Linked DNA regions of Homo sapiens: regions 1 and 3 are each linked to region 2. Evidence: promoter capture Hi-C in 16 types of primary human blood cells and fetal thymus (Javierre and others, 2016). All regions are on one chromosome and are shown on one strand. Each heading gives the region's core, a stretch centred on a gene start or on the middle of the fragment in contact. The rest is flanking DNA. Distances are from core to core; before and after follow the strand shown.

Region 1 (2,700 bases), core at 76-2,575, 55 kb before region 2:
TACCTTCAAAGGTTGTTAGTAATATTAAGTGATGTAGGCTAAGCCCTGAGGTGCCTAGAAGAGGTCGGTATCCTTCTAATATAAACAGCAACACTGCTGTGCTGACATTTGTGATATGAGCATGAGGGACACTTTTCTCCAGAGCACTAAAATGAGCCAGCCATAAAGGAAGAGCAGACAGGGGACTGGATGGTGAGGGGGGCTGTCTTTGTGGGGCTTCTGCTCACGTTGCCAAGTGCTTCATTTAGACCTCCAAATGCATGCAGCTCTTGCTCTCTGTGGCATGCTCCTGGACTCCTACGAGAATTTTTTTCTGACCATTTCATGCTGTTGTTCCTGTCTATATGGTTTGTTTATATTTTCTGCTCCTTTGTGTGAGAATTGTTTAGCTGACCGTGGGACTTCTCACTCAGTATTGTGTTCTGAAAGGAACCAAGGTTCCCCAGTAGGCTCAATTCCAAGTAGCTTTCCCCCCACCACTCTGTGGCTCTTTATTATTTAGGACTGTGCTTTTTAACCTCCTGTTTTCTTAGGGGCATTATCACACCAGAGTTTCACTGCTGTCCAGAGTTTACCTCTGCATGAATGTCTCTAGGCTGATTGCTCTCTGTTGAGTACTAACGAAGGAAATCCAACATTCATGTTCTACTTTGGGCTTTCTGATGACACAGGAGCCTGGCTTGTATTCAGTACACATATATTGATGTTATGTGACTTGACTAGGCCATAAAAACGATAAATACCTTTTAATAGCACCTACTATGGACCAAGTGCTGTTATAAGCACTTTACACAAATTTAATTGTCAACCTGGGGGCGGTGGCTCATGCTTCTAATCCCAAAATTTTGGGAGGCCAAGGTGGGAGGATCTCTTAAGGCCAGGAGTTTGAGACCAGCCTAGGCAACACAGTGAGACCCCCGCTCCATACAAAAAAAATATTTAAAAATTAGCTAGGTATGGTAGCACATGCTTGTAGTCCCAGCTGTTCAGGAGGATCACTTGAGCTTAAGAAATCAAGACTGTAGGCCAGGCGTAGTTGCTCACGCCTGTAATCCCAGCACTTTGTGAGGCCAAGGTGGGCAGATCACAAGGTCAGGAGATCGACATCATCCTGGCTAACACATTGAAACTCCATCTCTACTAAAAATACAAAAAATTAGCCGGGCGTGGTAGCGGGCGCCTGTAGTCCCAGCTACTCAGGAGGCTTAGGCAGGAGAATGGCGTGAACCCAGGAGGCGGAGCTTGCAGTGAGCTGAGATTGCGCCACTGCACTCCAGCCTCAGTGACAGAGTGAGACTCCATCTCAAAAAAAAAAAAAAAATCAAGACTGTAATGAGCTACTGCACTCCAGCCTGGGCAACAGAGCGAGACTCCAACTAAATAAAAATTACTTTTTATAATATCCCTATGAGATAGGTACTACAATTATCCTAATTTTACAGATGAGGAAATTAAGGTACAGAGAAGCTAGGTAACCTGTCCAAGATCACACAGCATATACATGGGAGAGCCAGGATTTGAACCAAGGAATCTCGCTCTGGATGCTTTCATAGATTATGTAATGTTAGCACTCAGAAGGCTTTAAGGTCCAACCACCTCATTTTAAATTTGATACTGCTGAGGCCTAGGTTGGAAGATAACTTGCTTAAGATCATTTGGATGGGCTAATTCATGGGCAGAACTTAACTAAAAATATAATTCCTTATTCCATAAGGTCTGGAGAAGAAAGTAGGTGGTAGTAAAAGTTATACACAAGTGAAAACACAGATGAAAAACAAGTGAGCTCAATTTCAGTCATCTCCTTTCAATTTAATTGTTGTGTAAGTACTACAGGAAATAATGTAGTTTCATATCTGTGATTATTTTGTGCAATTTCACCACAGTCCTGTGAAGACAGTATAGCTACAGTTTATCCATATGGGAGATGGAGTTAAGGAAGACTAAGTCCCTTACCCAAGGCCTATCAACAGTGAATAAATGTGGAAGTTGAGACACAAACTCAAGACCTCCACCCCTAGTTCTCCAGACTTATCATTCTCCAGGTCCACATCCTTAGCTCTCAATTCCAGCCACTTTGAACTGTATTCAGTTCCTCAGCCAGATCTCATCACTCATGTCCAAGTCATGAGTTTTCTTTCTTCTTTTCTCCTCCTTTTCTCCTCAGCCTCACCAGCTCCTGCTCATTCATCAGTTTCCATTTAGGAATTTTCAGAGACCTCACACAACACCTGGAACACAGGTTAGATGCCCTCATAGCTACTCCCTAAATACCCTGCATTTTTTCATTATAGCCCCACTCATGGTATATATCCCCTACTAGATTGGGTGTTCCAGGAGGGCAAGATCACATCTGTTTTGAAAGGTAGCACAGGGTGATGGTTAAAGCCAGGCTTCTAGAATCGGGCCTGACTTCACCTTCCCAGATCCAACACTCACTAGCTAGTAAATGCACGTTAAGTTACAATAGCCAAGCCTCATCTATTATTAGTGGGGTCTTAAAAGTCCTCATCTGATATATATTTGATAAAGACTAAGTTAGTAATACATATGAAGTTGCTAGGGGAATGTCAGGCATACAAGTATTCAGGAAAACATGTGGCAAAAATAGAGGCTCAAGAATAATTGTGGTGGCTGGGCGCACTGGCTCACGCCTGTAATCCCAGCACTTTAGGAGGCTGAGGTGGGTGGATCACAAGGTCG
Region 2 (2,700 bases), core at 143-2,642:
ATGCCCTATATCCATGAAGTTTAGTGAATTTTCCCAAATTCATCTCCAATATCAATTCGATTTTCGTTATTAAAATTAGAATGTTTTCAAACCGAAGGGGAGAGACTGATGGCAATGATAAATGTATTTGTGATATGTAGTTCAGGTTTGGATACTGCCTTCTACCTATGTCACATAGGCTGAGTGAGCTACAGAGGCACACCACTATCTGGAGTATCTAAGCAATAAACACGCTGAACCCAACACACTGGCCAACCACTCCTTCACTCTACAACAGGCTTCATATACTCTCCTGTGTTAAAGATTTTGGTAACTGCCTAAATTTTTGTTTCATTGGGCCAGTAAACCCTTTATGAATTACTACATGGCAAACATTTTTTAAAATAAAACAAAAATTCTAATAGCCCCAATCTCCCTGACCCTAACTACAAGAAAAAAAAAAAAGCCTACAATTTCATTGCTTTGCTTAAAATAGGATGTAGATATAAAATCTTTTTACAGAAAAGCATCTTTGTTCCCTTTTAACAGTGACAATCTATACACTGCCTTAATTGGGCCCCTGTATTTCTCAGCATGAATTTCATTTTTTACTGAAGATTTTCTTTAAAGCAGGTAAAACCGGTTTGTTCTTTAAAAAAAAAATCAATAAGAAAAACACTCCAGAATGAGGAGCAGGAAAATAATGCATGATAGTAAGGGGATCTCTTCAAATAAGATGATTTAATCGGTCCTCAAAGAGTTTCTAACACAGGGGCCAATCACCCAGAAGACAAACTAGCAAAATCAGTTCATGCCACAGAGCCTTTGCATTTCAATCCTTCCACACATATTGACTGGAGACTCACAGAGAAATGGTGCCTTTGCTACAGCCACCCCTTGTTCATCAGCACTGATGAGATTTGGGGAGAGCACCCAGAAATCACTAACTCTGTTTTTTAAAATACTAAATTAAAAAAAATAAAGCCAAACCTTACCAGAAAGGAGCAAGCTGACTCCACAGAGAACTAAGCTGGCTAAAGAGTCCATGCTTCCCCAAATCTCTCCATCCAGTTTCCACAAATGTGCATGAGGTCCCAAGGATCCTTTCAAAAACCCAGCGGTTTGTGACTTTCCATTAGCATCGTCCTACTACGTCTTGTTTACAAGTTAGAGGCAAGAAGGAACAGCACAGAAGCAGGCTGTAACAGTCTCATTTCTGTCTGAGCACAGGGAGTTTTAAGTTCCTTTTTCCTGTTTCCTTTGTAGATTAGGATGGGAAAGGCTGTATCTTAAAGGCATTTGGTATCAGCAGGGCTGGGGGCACTCAAGCCCTATCCATCTCGCAATTCATCAAAACACTTATCTGTTGCTGTTGCTTCTGCTGCTGCTTTTGCTGCTGCTGTAGGGGCAGAGGAATTTTTGTTGGAAGTGTGGGTCCCGGTCAGCATTTTCAGAAACAATAGGGGTATCCTCTCATAGGCGGGAAACTGAGAATAACAAGCCCTCCACCTATGTATGGTATGCGATGATGACCAATCCTTCTCAGACTTCTAACAGCTCTCCCGGGGCTACTGGGATCTCTGACAGAAGGAGCTTTTGGGTGTGGGAAGCCGTTTTGGCTTTTGTTTTCTCATTTTAACCCACATGGTTTGAATTGGGAGAAGAAGGTTTCCGTGATGAGAAAATACAACCTGAAAAGCAATTAATTTCAGTGAGCACCGGTGAGGTCAATGCTCAATGTAGCCCCAAGAGACCAGAGTCCAAAATTGTTAGCCTGTTTTCTTTCACACAGATGGCCTGTTGGTTGGCCATTAGCCCAAAGATACCCATGTTGCCGGCTATAGCTTTAATTTTCATTAACAATTCATCTAAAGGTGATCAAATTTCTTGAAGAAGTTGGCATAGAAGGATTTTGGTAATGAGAAAGATTTGGTAGTCATTGAGCAATGGTGTTTCAGAAGCAAATTATATATAACATTTAAAAACTAATCTGTGTAAAAACACAAACATACAGGATTAGATTGGGATAAAAATGGTGCTCATGAGAGCAAAGAGAGTTCATGGACCAAAATGAAAATAGCCATGGAATGTACAATATCTAGAATGAGGTCAGAGACCCTACACTTATCCAGATAATTACTCCACAATATGAATTATGACATTAGATTAGAGAGTATACACTTTGCTCATCATCGACCTTCATGCCTGAGGAAATCATTATACTCCTCCTTTTCCTACCCACCAGAGGAAAAGGCAGATGCAGCTAGTCTTGACTAATTTCTGTCCCAGGTTTTATCACATCGATGATGATCTTAAGAACCAATTAATGTTTCCAGTTTGCAGGTGTGAAAAAGCCCAGGTTCTGTCTGCAAACAGAACTGGGTTCAAATACTGGCTCAGCCACATGTGTAGCTGAGAAAAGTTACTTAGTCTTTTTGAGCCTCAGTTTCAACAGCTGTGAAATGGCAAAAATATCTCCTTCCCAGGTGTTTTGAGAGGAATAAATGAGGTTTAAAAATATAAAACCATTTGGTACTATGCCTAGTTCTTTGAAGGTTCTCATTAAATGTTAATAAGTTTATTTTCTTTCATCTTTCCATTCAGTCTCAATTTAAATTCCAAGAGCTTCTACTAAAAAGCTATTTTCTATTCCTATGAGATGACTTTAAATTTGTCATCACGAAAAAAAAAAACAAAAACAGTGGGCCTGGCACAGTGGCT
Region 3 (2,700 bases), core at 20-2,519, 38 kb before region 2:
GTTGAACCAATAGCAATTCACAGAGAAGGAAACACAAACAGCCAGTCGCAGTAGATTCATGAAAAAGTGGTCACAATATTTTGCATTTCATTCCATCAAGAAGTGGAGTTTCTTTCTCCATCTCTTGAATCTAGGCTTGGCCATGGGACTTCTTTTGATCAATGGAGGATTAGCCAATGTGGCATAAGCAGAGGCTTGAAAAGTGCTTGCCCACTGGGCTCTCCCACTGGGCTTGCACTCTTGCTGCTGCTCTATGGAACCCTGAGGCCATCATGAGGAGACGCCAAGACTAACCCGCTAGAGGATGAGAGACCAATCCAGCTTAAGCCAAAGAGTTTCCCAGATGACATACAGAAGCATAAGTCATAATAAATGTTTGCTGTTTTACCATTATGTTTTGGATGCCTTGTTACTCATCAAAAGCTGATATACTCACAACATGTGAAAAGTTGAAAAGATGTTTAACCTGACCACAGATCTCAAAATACAAACTAAAAAGACATCTCATTATTTGCCTATCAAATTGTCAAAGAATGGAGAGGGTCATAATATCTGGTGCTGGCTGTTGAATAGAAACATCTATATTGTTGATGGGCAGTGTAATTAGTAAAACATGTTTACAGGACGTGCTCGCAATATCTACAATAACTGAAAAGTTATATAAAAGCTAACCCTAATTCATCACTTATTATGTCAGGTACTACTCTAAGTGTGTCAACACATAATAACTCAATCCTCATAGCAATCTAGGCAGTAGGTACTATGACTGTTTCCATTTAACAGAAAAGGAGACTATGACAAAGAAAGATTAAATACTTGGTGATTGTTACACAGCTAATTTGTAGCAGAGCTGAGACTGAAATTTAGGTGGACTGGTTTCACTCCATTCTTTCAACAATTAAACTATATTACACCATCTCACGTCAAAAATGTCTAACAATTCAATGAAGTTGTTTTCAACAAATAATACTGGAACACTTGGACATCAATATGCAAAAAAAGAGCCCTAACCTAAAACCACCCATGTATACAAAAATTCACTAAAAATACATCGTGTAAAACATTAAAATACAAAACTTTAGGTATATAGAAGAAAATCTTCATGACACTGGAGTTAGAAAGTGATTGTTAGCTATGACACCAAAAATTAGCTGTCATAGACACCATGAATAAAAAAGAAATTGTTACGCTAAATTTTATTAAGATTTAAAACTTTAGTCTATGGAAGACATTGTTAAGAAAATAAAAGGACAAACCATGAACTGGGAGAAAATATTTGCTAATCACATATCTGGCAAATGACTTGCATCTAGAATGCATAAAAAGCTCTCAAAACTCAACAGTAAGAAAACAACTCAATTTTTTTAAATGAGCAAAAGATTTGAGACACTTCACCAGAGAAAATGTATAGATGGCAAATAAGCACAAAAGATGTTTAATATCATTAAACATTATGGAAATGCTAAGTGAAACCACAATGAGATACTGCTACAAACCTATTAGAACAGATCAAAAAACAAAAAAAGAAGAAAGAAAAAAGAAAACCTGATAATACCCAGTGCTAAAGAGAATGTGTAGGAACTGCAATTCTCATCCATTGATGGAAGTAATTTAAAATGGGTGGTATAGCCACTGTGGAAATTGGTTTAACAATTTCTTATAAAGTTAAACATACACTTACGTATCACCCAACAATCCCACTTGTAGGCATTTACCCTTCAGAAATGAAAATGTACATTCATACAATGAATGTTGGCCGGGCGCAGTGTCTCACGCCTGTAATCCCAGCACTTTGGGAGGCCGAGGCGGGCAGATCACAAGGTCAGGAGATCAAGACCATCCTGGCTAACACGGTGAAACCCCGTCTCTACTAAAAATACAAAAAATTAGCCGGGCGTGGTGGTGGGCACCTGTAGTCCCAGCTACTCGAGAGGCTGAGGCAGGAGAATGGCGTGAACCCGGGAGGCGGAGCTTGCAGTGAGCCGAGGTCACGCCACTGCACTCCAGCCTGGGAGACAGAGCAAGACTCCGTCCCCCCCGCCAAAAAAAAAAAAAAAAAAAATAGAATGTTTATAGCAGCTCTATTTATTCATAATCACCCCAAACTGGAAGCACCCAAATATCCTTCAGTGGATAAATACATAAACAAGCTATAGTATATCCATGCTACTCAACAATGAAAAGAAAAAACCTATTGCTACTTGCAGCAACATGGCATTATGCTGAGTGAAGAAGCTAAAATCATCTTCTACCTACTGTCCGACTGCATTTATATGACATTCTAAGAAAGGCAGGCCTGTAGGGATGAGACCAGATGAGTGGCTGCCAAGGATTAGGGCTGGGAGAAATCTGACTACAAAGGGGCAGCACAAAAAAGATTTTTGGGGTGATGGTACTATTCTGTATCCTGATCGCTGTTCTTAGTGGCAGATACATGAGTGTATGTGTTAAAACTCATAGAGTTGTATACACACAAAAGCCAATTATACTGTATATTAACTTTAACAATTATAATAAAAATGTATCTTTCATATTTACCAGTAAAAATATGCAAAGATATGGCAAGGATATTCATTGCAGCATATAGCCACAAACTGTAAACAATATAAAGTTCATCAACAGAAGCATCTCTAAATAAATAACGGTACATACATGTAATAGGGTATTATAAGTTTGCATGAGCCTTGAAATATAAAGTGA

Evidence for each region. Contacts are between HindIII fragments. The CHiCAGO score rates a contact against its expected background, and 5 or more counts as called.
Region 1: a fragment that was not itself captured here is called in contact with the fragment with the promoter of TEK in region 2 in 1 of 17 cell types (endothelial precursors); the score reaches 6.4 in endothelial precursors.
Region 3: a fragment that was not itself captured here is called in contact with the fragment with the promoter of TEK in region 2 in 1 of 17 cell types (endothelial precursors); the score reaches 7.1 in endothelial precursors.

Annotation. Positions count from the first base shown.
Region 1 is chr9:27,162,943-27,165,642 of GRCh38, reverse strand. All of the region lies in intron 2 of TEK (TEK receptor tyrosine kinase), which reads right to left. Among named protein-coding and RNA genes, the nearest start is that of TEK, 55 kb to the right of the region's middle. The HindIII fragment of the contact is 5,735 bases long and covers 1-2,700 here.
Region 2 is chr9:27,107,917-27,110,616 of GRCh38, reverse strand. It overlaps TEK (TEK receptor tyrosine kinase), which reads right to left and starts at 1,392. Exons shown (of 23, transcript NM_000459.5): 1 at 975-1,392. The coding sequence starts at 1,026. The HindIII fragment of the contact is 9,085 bases long and covers 1-2,700 here.
Region 3 is chr9:27,146,083-27,148,782 of GRCh38, reverse strand. The region is part of intron 1 of TEK (TEK receptor tyrosine kinase); the gene reads right to left. Among named protein-coding and RNA genes, the nearest start is that of TEK, 38 kb to the right of the region's middle. The HindIII fragment of the contact is 2,940 bases long and covers 1-2,700 here.